4 separate regions of the Homo sapiens genome follow, and all the other regions are linked to region 1. The links are contacts of gene promoters, found by promoter capture Hi-C in blood cells and fetal thymus (Javierre and others, 2016). All regions are on one chromosome and are shown on one strand. Each heading gives the region's core, a stretch centred on a gene start or on the middle of the fragment in contact. The rest is flanking DNA. Distances are from core to core; before and after follow the strand shown. Region 1 holds the start of FBLN7 (fibulin 7). Region 2 overlaps ZC3H6 (zinc finger CCCH-type containing 6). Region 3 overlaps ZC3H6 (zinc finger CCCH-type containing 6). Region 4 overlaps ZC3H6 (zinc finger CCCH-type containing 6).

What was found. The method cuts DNA at HindIII sites, captures the fragments that hold promoters and counts their contacts. A CHiCAGO score of 5 or more calls a contact.
Region 2: a contact is called between a fragment that was not itself captured here and the fragment with the promoter of FBLN7 in region 1, in 1 of 17 cell types (non-activated CD4 T cells). The highest score is 5.3, in non-activated CD4 T cells.
Region 3: a fragment that was not itself captured here is called in contact with the fragment with the promoter of FBLN7 in region 1 in 1 of 17 cell types (activated CD4 T cells); the score reaches 7.3 in activated CD4 T cells.
Region 4: a contact is called between a fragment that was not itself captured here and the fragment with the promoter of FBLN7 in region 1, in 1 of 17 cell types (activated CD4 T cells). The highest score is 5.1, in activated CD4 T cells.

Annotation. Positions count from the first base shown.
Region 1 is chr2:112,137,103-112,139,802 of GRCh38, reverse strand. It overlaps FBLN7 (fibulin 7), which reads right to left and starts at 1,418. Exons shown (of 8, transcript NM_153214.3): 1 at 1,073-1,418. The coding sequence starts at 1,147. The HindIII fragment of the contact is 8,502 bases long and covers 1-1,739 here.
Region 2 is chr2:112,336,089-112,338,788 of GRCh38, reverse strand. ZC3H6 (zinc finger CCCH-type containing 6) reads right to left here. Exons shown (of 12, transcript NM_198581.3): 12 at 1-2,700. Among named protein-coding and RNA genes, the nearest start is that of ZC3H6, 62 kb to the right of the region's middle. The HindIII fragment of the contact is 2,195 bases long and covers 240-2,434 here.
Region 3 is chr2:112,299,778-112,302,477 of GRCh38, reverse strand. It overlaps ZC3H6 (zinc finger CCCH-type containing 6), which reads right to left. Exons shown (of 12, transcript NM_198581.3): 2 at 2,449-2,629. Among named protein-coding and RNA genes, the nearest start is that of ZC3H6, 26 kb to the right of the region's middle. The HindIII fragment of the contact is 950 bases long and covers 973-1,922 here.
Region 4 is chr2:112,318,122-112,320,821 of GRCh38, reverse strand. All of the region lies in intron 7 of ZC3H6 (zinc finger CCCH-type containing 6), which reads right to left. Among named protein-coding and RNA genes, the nearest start is that of ZC3H6, 44 kb to the right of the region's middle. The HindIII fragment of the contact is 2,371 bases long and covers 136-2,506 here.

The DNA of each region.
Region 1 (2,700 bases), core at 169-2,668:
GGCCTGGAGAGAGGCGGGAGGGACACTGGCGTGGAGAGAGGCGGGAGGGACACTGACCTGGAGAGAGGCGGGAGGGACACTGGCGTGGAGAGAGGCGGGAGGGACGCTGGCCTGGAGAGAGGCGGGAGGGACGCTGACCTGGAGAGAGGCGGGAGGGACGCTGGCCTGGAGAGAGGCGGGAGGGACACTAGCCTGGAGAGAGGCGGGAGGGACACTGGCGTGGAGAGAGGCGGGAGGGACGCTGGCCTGGAGAGAGGCGGGAGGGACGCTGACCTGGAGAGAGGCGGGAGGGACGCTGGCCTGGAGAGAGGCGGGAGGGACACTAGCCTGGAGAGAGGCGGGAGGGACACTGACCTGGAGAGAGGCGTGAGGGACACTGGCCTGGAGAGAGGCGGGAGGGACACTGGCCTGGAGAGAGGCGGGAGGGACACTGACCTGGAGAGAGGCGGGAGGGACACTGGCGTGGAGAGAGGCGGGAGGGACGCTGGCCTGGAGAGAGGCGGGAGGGACGCTGACCTGGAGAGAGGCGGGAGGGACGCTGGCCTGGAGAGAGGCGGGAGGGACACTGACCTGGAGAGAGGCGTGAAGGACACTGGCCTGGAGAGAGGCGGGAGGGACACTGGCCTGGAGAGAGGCGGGAGGGACACTGGCGTGGAGAGAGGCGGGAGGGACACTGGCTGGCCTGGAGAGAGGCGGGAGGGACACTGGCCTGGAGAGAGGCGGGAGGGACGCTGACCTGGAGAGAGGCGGGAGGGACGCTGGCCTGGAGAGAGGCGGGAGGGACGCTGACCTGGAGAGAGGCGGGAGGGACGCTGGCCTGGAGAGAGGCGGGAGGGACGCTGGCCTGGAGAGAGGCGGGAGGGACACTGGCGTGGAGAGAGGCGCGCGGGACAGGGGACAGAGGCGGGAGGGACACTGACCTGGAGAGAGGCGGGAGGGACAGGGGAGAGAGGCGGGAGGGACAGGGGAGAGAGGCGGGAGGGACGCTGGCCTGGAGAGAGGCGGGAGGGACACTGGCCTGGAGAGAGGCGGGAGGGACACTGGCCTGGAGAGAGGCGGGAGGGACACTGACCTGGGAAGCCCGCGGCTCGGGGCAGGCGAGGATCAGGAGCAGAAGGAAGAGCGCGCGCGGAGAGCTGGGCACCATCTTGCCAGTCGGAATCCCGCTGCCTGGGAGGGGAAATAACTTTGCCTCCGCTGCCGAGTTTGTCCCAGCGATGCGGCAGCCGTCCCTGCAGGGTGCGGGGCGCCGCGCGGCCGGGGGGCGGCTGGGGCAGGGGGGGAGGCGGGAGGCCCCGAGCGCAGCGCGTCCCGCGGGGATCGGCGCCGCCCGGGCCTTGCGAGGGTCCAGGTGCGCCCGCAGCTGCCCGCACGAGACAGTCCGCGCGAGGCGGGGAGGCGCCGGCCCCTGGGCTAAGGACGAGGGAGGAGGGGCTGCCCGGCCGGGAATGCGCCCGGGAGCGCGCCCAACCCGCGACGCCGAGGACGAGCGCGGGCATCCTCGGGGCCTGGCAGGGATGGGCGGCCAGTGCCCCGCATATGTGCGGGTGACTGGAAGCCCACCCTGGGCGGGTTCACTCCCGACCGTCCTATTTCCCAACCAAGTAGACTGAGGCTCAGTCACCAAGGACAAGTGGCAGAACAGAAACCCAAACCCAGGTCTGTCCTACTTCAAAGCCCACGCGACACCCTCCTCCCGACATTCCTAGAAGGGGGCCAGGAAATGGGCTTCATAAGCTTGACGTGGGGTGGACTGAGCTCTCCATCCGAATAAACTAGTGTCCCTTTAAATAATGCAATGGGGCCGTGAGAACACGCACGCACAGTGAGTAGATACACACACAGTGATACAGTGAGGGGATCTACGTCCTTCTGATTCACTGTCCTCCTTGCTCAAGGGAAGGAGAAACTCAGTTTAAATCGGAGGTCAGGTTCTAGAACATTGCCTGCCTTGCTGAAGTCGAATCAGGAAGTGCCAGGCCGGCATGAGCAGTCTGAAGTCCCCTGCCATCAGGGCTGTGGTACAACCAGATGCCTCAGACCTGAGCTCCCGGAAGGCATGACTGACGTTCTTCCTGGAAGGTTTTCTGAAGGCAGTCACTGCAGATGTCCTGGGACACACAAGTCTGGTCAAGCCCCAGATCTCTTTTTCCTCTTCCACATTTCACTTTGTTGAGCCCACTCAGAGCTCAGGGAACGGGGAGCCCACAAGACTGTGACCACAGAGCAGGAGCTGTTTCCCAGCAGAGGCCAGAAAGGAAAGCTGGAGTCCTGGCTTAGTCCCTTCAAACTGCTATAGCAAAATACCATAAACTGAGTGGCTTATAAACAATAGAACGTGTTTCTCACAGTTCTGGAGACTGGGAGGTCCAAGATCAAGGTGTCAATAGATTAGGTGTTTGGCGAGGGCCAGAGTTCTGGTTCCCGTGTCCTCACAGGGGAAAGGCAGCTCTCTGGGGCCTCTTTTCTGAGGGCACTAATCCCAATTTTGAGGGCTCTGCACTCATGACCTAGTCACCTCCCAAAGGTCCCACCTCCTAATGCCATCATCTTGGGAATGAGGTTTCCAACATATAAATTTAGGGGAGACACCAACATTCAGAACCTAGCCAGTGCCCCAAAAAGCAGGGGACATGGTTTAGGCTGGCCTCCTGGGCATTGGTTGCCCAGGAAATCCTACAGTGCTGCTCCCCCAACCTT
Region 2 (2,700 bases), core at 88-2,587, 200 kb before region 1:
TTTGAGAATATGGTTATTTTTTAATTGAGCCTCTATATATTTAATTTCTTTACAATAAATTACATATCAGACCTCTGATAATGCAAATTTCACCATTCCTTTCAACCTTAATACTCTCATGAAGGTATTAAAATCAGTAATGAGCCAAGAAGTATGGGGCCTGACTATCTGCAGAGCTAATTTTTTCTAAAATGCTATAATTAGCTATATATTCACTTTTTTCTTATAAACTCTAAGCTTAAAAAACAAGAAGGTCAAGAATAAACAACGCTGTAAAATACTATTCCAAGAACTCACAATCTTCTTTGAACTCACAGCTCTTCCTTATGCCTACAATAATTTTGCTAACAGTAGCATGATTGTTCTATTCCAAAGGGTAACGAAAGGTGTTTAAAGACCAGATACAAGACCCAAAATTAGAGTCAAATCATAACTTAAAAGGGAAAATTACTGTTCATGGTATCAGGATAGAAGGAATTTTAAATGCTATTGATAATTCACTAGGTTAGGACTAAGTATTTATTTTAAAATAAAAGACTGGCCAGGCACAGTGGCTCACGCCTGTAATCCCAGCACTTTGGGAGGCTGAGGCGGGCAGATCACTTGAGGTAAGGAGTTTGAGACCAGCCGGGCCAACATGATGAAACTGTGTCTCTACCAAAAATATAAAAAATTAGCTGGTTGTGGTGGCGCATGCCTATAATCCCAGCTACTCAGAAGGCTGAGGCAGGAGAATTGCTTGAACCCAGAGGCAGAGGTTGCAGTGAGCCAAGATCATGCCACTACACTCCAGCCTGGGCAACAGAGCAAGACTCCGTCTCAAAAAATAAATAAATAAAAATAAATAATAATTAAAAAAAAAGACTGGGCCAGGCGTGGTGGCTCATGCCTGTGATCCCAGCACTTTGAGAGGCCAAGACTGGTGGATCACTTGAGGCCAGGAGTTCAAGATCAGCTTGGCCAACATGGTCAAACCCTGTCTCTACCAAAAAAATACAAAAATTAGCTGGGTGTGGTGGCACACACCTGTAGTTCCAGCTACTCAGGAAGCTAAGGTGGGAGAATTGCTTGAACCTGGGAGGCGGAGGCTGCTGTGAGCTGATAGCGCCACTGCACTTCAGCCTGAGCGACAAAGTGAGACTGTCTCAAAAAAATAAATAAAAAACAGGCTGAGCACGGTGGCTCACGCCTGTAACCCCAACACTTTTGGAGGTTGAGGCGGGTGGATCACCTGGGGTCAGGAGTTCAAGATCAGCCTGATCAACATGGTGAAACCCCGTCTCTAGTAAATACAATAAATTAGCTGGGTGTGGTGGCACGTGCCTGTAAGCCCAGCTACTTGGGAGTCTGAGGCAGGAGAATCACTTGAACCTGGGAGGCAGAGGTTGCAGTGATCCGAGATTGCACCATTACACTCCAGCCTGGGCAACAAGAATGAAGACTCTGTCTCAAACAAAAACAACAACAAATTAAAAAAAAAAAAAAAGAATGGCTATGCAGTTACTTTTCTGGTTACAGAAAAAATCCTGCAGACCTTTATAGGAATAAATTATTGATCAATCCAAACTTTCACCATGAAGTAATCTTGTAAGTCTGGAGGACTCTTAAAGTTATGAATTATTATGGAAACATGGAGCTCCTAAGTTGCCATAATCTGTCTTCACATTGCTTGGGCTGAGGGTGGGGACAAAAAAGAGCAGGTGGGCTGTCTACCAAAAGAGATATAACCCATAAGGTGCATTCTTCCTAATGCAGTCATGGAATACTTCTGCCACACCTGTTTAACGGGTGACAGCATCTGTAAAAGTGACATTTGGATGGATGTCAGGAAGCCATCAACAAGCAGTTAACAAAGCACCCACTGTAGGCCTACAACTAGGCTTGTTTCTATGGCAAGTATAAAAATAAGGAGATACATGTGGGTCCTGTCTCCAAAAGCATAAAATATTATTTTAAATGTGCTTTTTGTTTCTTATTTTAAAATTAGAAATTCTAAGTACTATGTAGATGTTAACTTTTCTTGGGTCTGTATCCTTTCCAGGAAAGGCAGGATAATAGGGAGGGCTTTGTCACAACTGGCAGATACTGCTGATAAATGACATAAATGACATACTCAAACACAAAACTCCAGCAATATAGTGACTGGTAGCTGCCAAAACTTTCTGCAAACCACATGAAACTGCTTGGGGAGAAGGCATTATGTAAATGCTAAGGTGTAACACCTAAGAAAATAGCTTTGAACTCTTAGGCCGTTTGGTTATATATGTCAAAACTTGGATTTCCTAAACTAAGTCTTATTTAAACTATAATTATAGTTTACAAATGCTTATATATTTTACTGGACTTAATTTTGAACATAATGTCATCAAGTGCTGCCAAACCATTTTTGAAAAGATAATTCAAGAAATTAACAGAAAGCTCAATTATTGAAGCTTGCGGGGTGGGGGACCCTATCAGTGGACTGCATGACTGCAGACCACCCCCACCAAGGTACAGCCTTCAACACAGTCCAACCCTCCAAAAACATCAGGGAAAACATCTCCACCACAGATTCTATGTCATGCAAATGAAGAGATTCTGACAGCCTCTTTAAGATCTCATATCCTGGTCCCTAGGAGCTTCCTAACTTCTAGTGGCCATTAATTAAAGAAACATAATACCTTTATGAAGTAAGTAGTCTTTCAGGAAGACCGCAGTGTG
Region 3 (2,700 bases), core at 198-2,697, 160 kb before region 1:
ACTCAGTAAAAATTTGCTGAAATGATTGAACTCTGATGCTTTTACAAGGGAAGGCTCTGTTTTTCTCTAATCCATCCTGAAATGTTATTTTAGGAAAGACAAATTGCTTTCCTCCATCTTGTTCCTAAATGGTCTGGAGTTTGGTTTTTATGATTTTATTGCTTTTGTCTTTGTTGATTTGATAGGTGACATAAAGAAATATTTTTATAATTATGCTGTCAAATGCTTCAACTTTAAGTATCTAATCATTCTTGGCTAGGATTTAAAATAAATAGTGTCTATTTAAAAGCCATGTTTGCTCAGTCACCATCAGAAGTCAGCTCCAGCTCTAAGGAAAACCTTTCACCTGAAAAATACTAATAGAATTATACTCTGAAAAGATTTGGTCCTTGTGTTTCTTGGTAGGGTAGATTACAAACTCCAAAAAGTCTCAGACTTTTTGACTCTCTAGAATTAATTTTGTTAGGTAGTACTTTTCTAGAAAATTTTCCATTTCATCTTGCTTTTAATATTTATTTTCATAAAATTATATACATAAATTTCTTATGATTTGAATTTCCTTTTTGATAGTTATTTCACCCTCAGCATATATACATTTATTTTTCTTTTCCCTTTTATTATTGATAAGTTTGGTCAATGATATATATGTTGTTGATCTTTTTTAAAAAACTATTGGTTTTCATTCTAATTCATTCACTTCTGCTTATAATTTTATTAAGTACTTCCTTTTGGTTTTGTTTTGTTTTGTTATTATTCTATGCTGTTTGAGCATAGCTTATATTGTTTTCTTAATTTTTTGTCATTTTAAAATATTAGGTTAAATTTTTCATATGCTTTGTGGGCATGCTTTCTTTTCTGGAAGACTTACTCTCCATTATTCTCTTTTATCTTACAATAACAACTATGGAATGTGACCATAGTCTTATCTTGCTTCTCATGTGAAAAAAATGGATGGAATGGGCCAATAAAGCTTTCCTAGCTTCATAGCTCTAGGGTTATCTCTTCTGTTGTTAGCATGAAGTATTCAAAAATATGGCTATTTTCTGAGCTATGCCTCTTCTGCTTCCTTCCCCCATTTGTTATCTGACTATTTCTTTCCTTGGCCCTATATGCCTGTTTCTCAATGTAGACTTTACTTCCAGCAGTTACCTCCTCAGTGTGGGACTCTGTCATAAAAAGGAATTTGGTTGATTCATATTTGGGGTTCATCAGGTCCAGATCTTTTCAGCACCATCCAATTTCTGTGGTCACCTTACATTCATGCATGAACTGGTGATAGCACAGCCCCCTCCCAGTTTCTGTTGCTGTTCTCAGGCCCATGAGGTTTCCGTGCTGGGCACTGACCATTTGAGGTGAATATCTGTTGGCAACTTGGTTTCTGGAAGTCCCTTTATTTTCCCTCTGCTTCATTTGTACTGATGCTGTTGTTACACTGCTCTTGTTGCTGTCTATCGTTTGGCTCCAGTCATTTGTACTTTTTAGGTTTATTAGAGATAACTTGTTTCTTCCTTTTTTTGTAGATGTTGTCAATGGGTTTTGGTTGTGTTATCCTAATTGATGTGATTTTAATGGAGGAAATTCAGGGAGTTTCAAAACCTGCTCCTACATTGCTGCCAACTTGTCCATGATTTCTCAGTCAGCATAGGTTCCCCTTCTTCCCTACCCCAAATCCACATAATTCTCTATCCAGTACCTTGTTGTTTTTTTCATAGCTTTCCCATTGCAATGTAAACTCTTTAAGAGCCAACTATTTCACTCACTACTATAACCCTCAGCATACAGCATAAAGGTTTCCATAGTAAGCACTCGATCATATACCTAAATGAATAATAAATAGATGGACAATGCCAATGCTGCTAATCTGTATCTGTAGAGAATGAAACTCTCTTTCCTTAATCTTCCAATATCCATGTATACAAGCTTCCATCAATTAAAATATTATTTATTTCAATCTGCGTTAAAATTTAACTTGAAGCCCGGTGTGGTGGCTCACACCTGTAAACCTAGCAATTTGGGAGGCCACGGTTGGCACATCACTTGAGCCCAGCAGTTTGAGCCCAGCCTGGGCAACATGGCAAAACCCTGTCTCTACTAAAAATAAAACATTAGCCAAGTGTGGTGGTGTGCACCTGTAGTTCCAGCTACTCAGGAGGCTGAGTGGGGGATCACCTAAGCCTGGGAGATCAAGGCTGCAGTGAGCCAAAATTGTGCCACTGCACTCAAGCCTGGACAATAGACCCTATCTCAAAAAAAAAAAAGATTTAACTTAATTACTTTTTAAATCTTTAAGATAATTCATATAATCTTTGTTTAGAAAGTTTAATCACATAAATGAAAATATCTAATCCACATGTTTTATAATAAAATAATGACTTCTACTTTCTAATTTTCAGTATTTTATATTTCATAAACATTTATCAAAAGAATAAAAAGTAGATTCTAACTAACCTTATGTTTCTCACGTTTTCTCCTTTTGGATTTTTTCTTCTCTCTCTCTTTCTTATGTTTTTTTCTTGATTTTCTGTAGGCTTTCTCACTTTTCTGCTTTTCATTCTCTTTTGCTTCTTTTTCTTGTATTTCTTCAAATCCTGCATCGTCTATTTCACCATCTTCTAATTCGCCATCTTCTCTATAGAAGGAAAATTTTAATTTTCAAATATCATTCTAAAACAAATCTTACAGAAAGATTTTCAAAAGAAA
Region 4 (2,700 bases), core at 72-2,571, 180 kb before region 1:
ACATTCTTCTGGAAATGTGGCCAATACAATTAAAATTAAATAAGAGGTATAAATATTGTAAATGAAGTAAAATTATTATTATTTACAAACAGCATGACTATATAACAAAAACCCCATAAGAATAGATGGAAAGCTTTCAGAAACAGAATAAAGTATTTGCTTTCTAAAGAAATATGTCAAATCTGAAAAAATTTATTTTTCTTGAATAGGACAAATTCATTACATTTTATTTGTTTTTATTATTTGCCAAATCACTTCTGACCTGAGACTATTACAACATTTTTTTTAAAAAGGAAGGAGTATTTGCCTTACCAAATATCAAACATACTCTTACAGAGGTGAATAATCAAATACCACAATAGATAAGAGTAGTATAGAAGCAGAACTGTGTACAAATGAGAATTTAGGGTCTGGTGAAGATGCCATTTTAAATCAGTAAAGATAAGACAATGAGTTAATCATCTGAATAAAGGTCCTTATTAACACACTGTGTATTAAAATACAGTCCATATTAATGTAAATGTTAAATTTAAAAATACAATATTCACAATCATTATAGATTTCATTTTTCTAAAAAATTATGTGTATAGGCTGGGCCCAGTGGCTCACGCCTATAATCCCAGCACTTTGGGAGGCCGAGGCAGGCGGATCACCTGAGGTCGGGAGATTGAGACCAGTCTGATCAACATGGAGAAACAACATCTCTACTAAAAATACAAAAATTAGCCAGGCGTGGTGGTGCATGCCTGTAATCCCAGCTACTCGGGAGGCTGAGGCAGGAGAATTGCTTGAACCCGGGAGGCAGAGGTTGCAGTGAGCGGAGAACGCGCCATTGGACTCCAGCCTGGGCAACAAAAGTGAAACTCCGTCTCACAAAAATAAAAAATTATGTGTATAAACATATACACATCCATTCATACATACATACCAGCATAGAAAAAAAGTCTGAAAGGCTTTATGCCATACTCCAAGTATGGTTCTCTGTAGGATGACATTACTTAGGATTTTTTTTCTAAGTTTGTTTGAAGGTCATTAACCATACCAAAGTAGAGAGAATAATAAAATGAAGTCCCTCTCATGTTGACCTCATAGGTTCAACAACTTTCATCATTTGTTGTAAATATTTCCATACCTATTCTCAACATAAGGACTATTGTTTCTTTCCTTTTTTTTTTTGAGACAGAGTCTTGCTCTGTTGCTCAGGCTGGAGTGCAGTGGCACCATCTTGGCTCACTGCAACCTCCACCTCCCAGGTTCAAGCGATTCTCCTGCCTCAGCTTCCCAAGTAGCTGGGATTACAGGTGCACGCTACCATGCCCAACTAATTTGTGTATTTTTAGTAGAGATGGGGTTTCACTATGTTGGCCAGGTTGGTCTTGAACTCCTCACCTCAGGTGATCCACCCGCCTTGGCCTCCGAAAGTGGTGGGATTACAGGCATGAGCCACCGTGCCTGGCCCCTTTCCTCTTTAAATTAGTTATGGGAGTGGGGGAGGTGTCTCACTATGTTACCCAGGCTGGTCTCCAACTCCTGGCCTCAATCAATCCTCCCACCCCAGCATCCCAGTGTTAGGATTACAGGTGTGACCTACCATGCCTGGCCAGGAATACTTTTTCTTACCAATCACGACTTCATTACCACCCTGGCAAAATTAATGTGTTAATTTCAACTAGTAACCAGTCAATATACAAATTTTCCAGACTTTTAAAAAAGTATGTTTTTATAATTCCTTTCTTCAGATCAGGACATAAAGATGATCCACAAATTGTATCTAGTTAATACATCTCCCAAGTTACTTTTACTGATTTCTAGAAGTTCCCCTTTCCCTTTTATTTTTGTATCATTTGTTAATTTTAATATTGGTCATAGATGGTATTCAAATACTCTCTACTGTATCATATCAAAAGGCATTTAATATCTGGTTGTTTCTTTTTAGTAATGTTAAGACTGATCAGTCCTTTCAGGTGTTGTCAGCTCCATCCATCAGTTGTAAAGTTCCTAATTAACTTTTCACCTCATGATTTTAGCAGCCATCAGTAATCACTGCCCAGGTCTATTGTGGAGAAACTGCAAAACGTGGGATTGCTGGGTCAAAGGGTAAATGCATATTGCATTTACCAAGCTCTCCTCCATAGGAATGCACCATTTTGACATTGCCAGCATCAAGGTCTTCTCACATCCTTGCTAACAAACTTCACTGTCACGATTTTTTTATTTTTGCAAACGTGACACAGCTGCAAATGTTATCTCAGTGTAGCTTAAATTACATTCCCCTTATTAGGAACAAGATTGAACATCTTTCTGTATGTTTTGGGACCATTTGCATTTCTCTTTCTGGGAATTATCTGTATCTCTTCCCTCATTTTTCTTCTCAATGTTTAGAAACTCATATATTAAGGATATGACCTCTTCGTAAGTGATATAAATTACACATAATCTTTCTCACTTCATTATTTATCTTATTATTTAGCTCATGTTATATGTATTTGTTTTGCAAATGCAAGCTTTTTCATGGAGTCAAAATTTCAATCTGTTCCCTTTTTGCTTCTGGATTTTGAGACAGGAAATTTTTCTGTTCCAATTCATCATGTATTCCTCTGGTAATTACATCGTTCCATTTTTTGACATTTTGATCTATGATAACAGGCATTTTTCATTTTATTCACTTTCTTTTTTTTCACATTTTTTAAACACGACAAC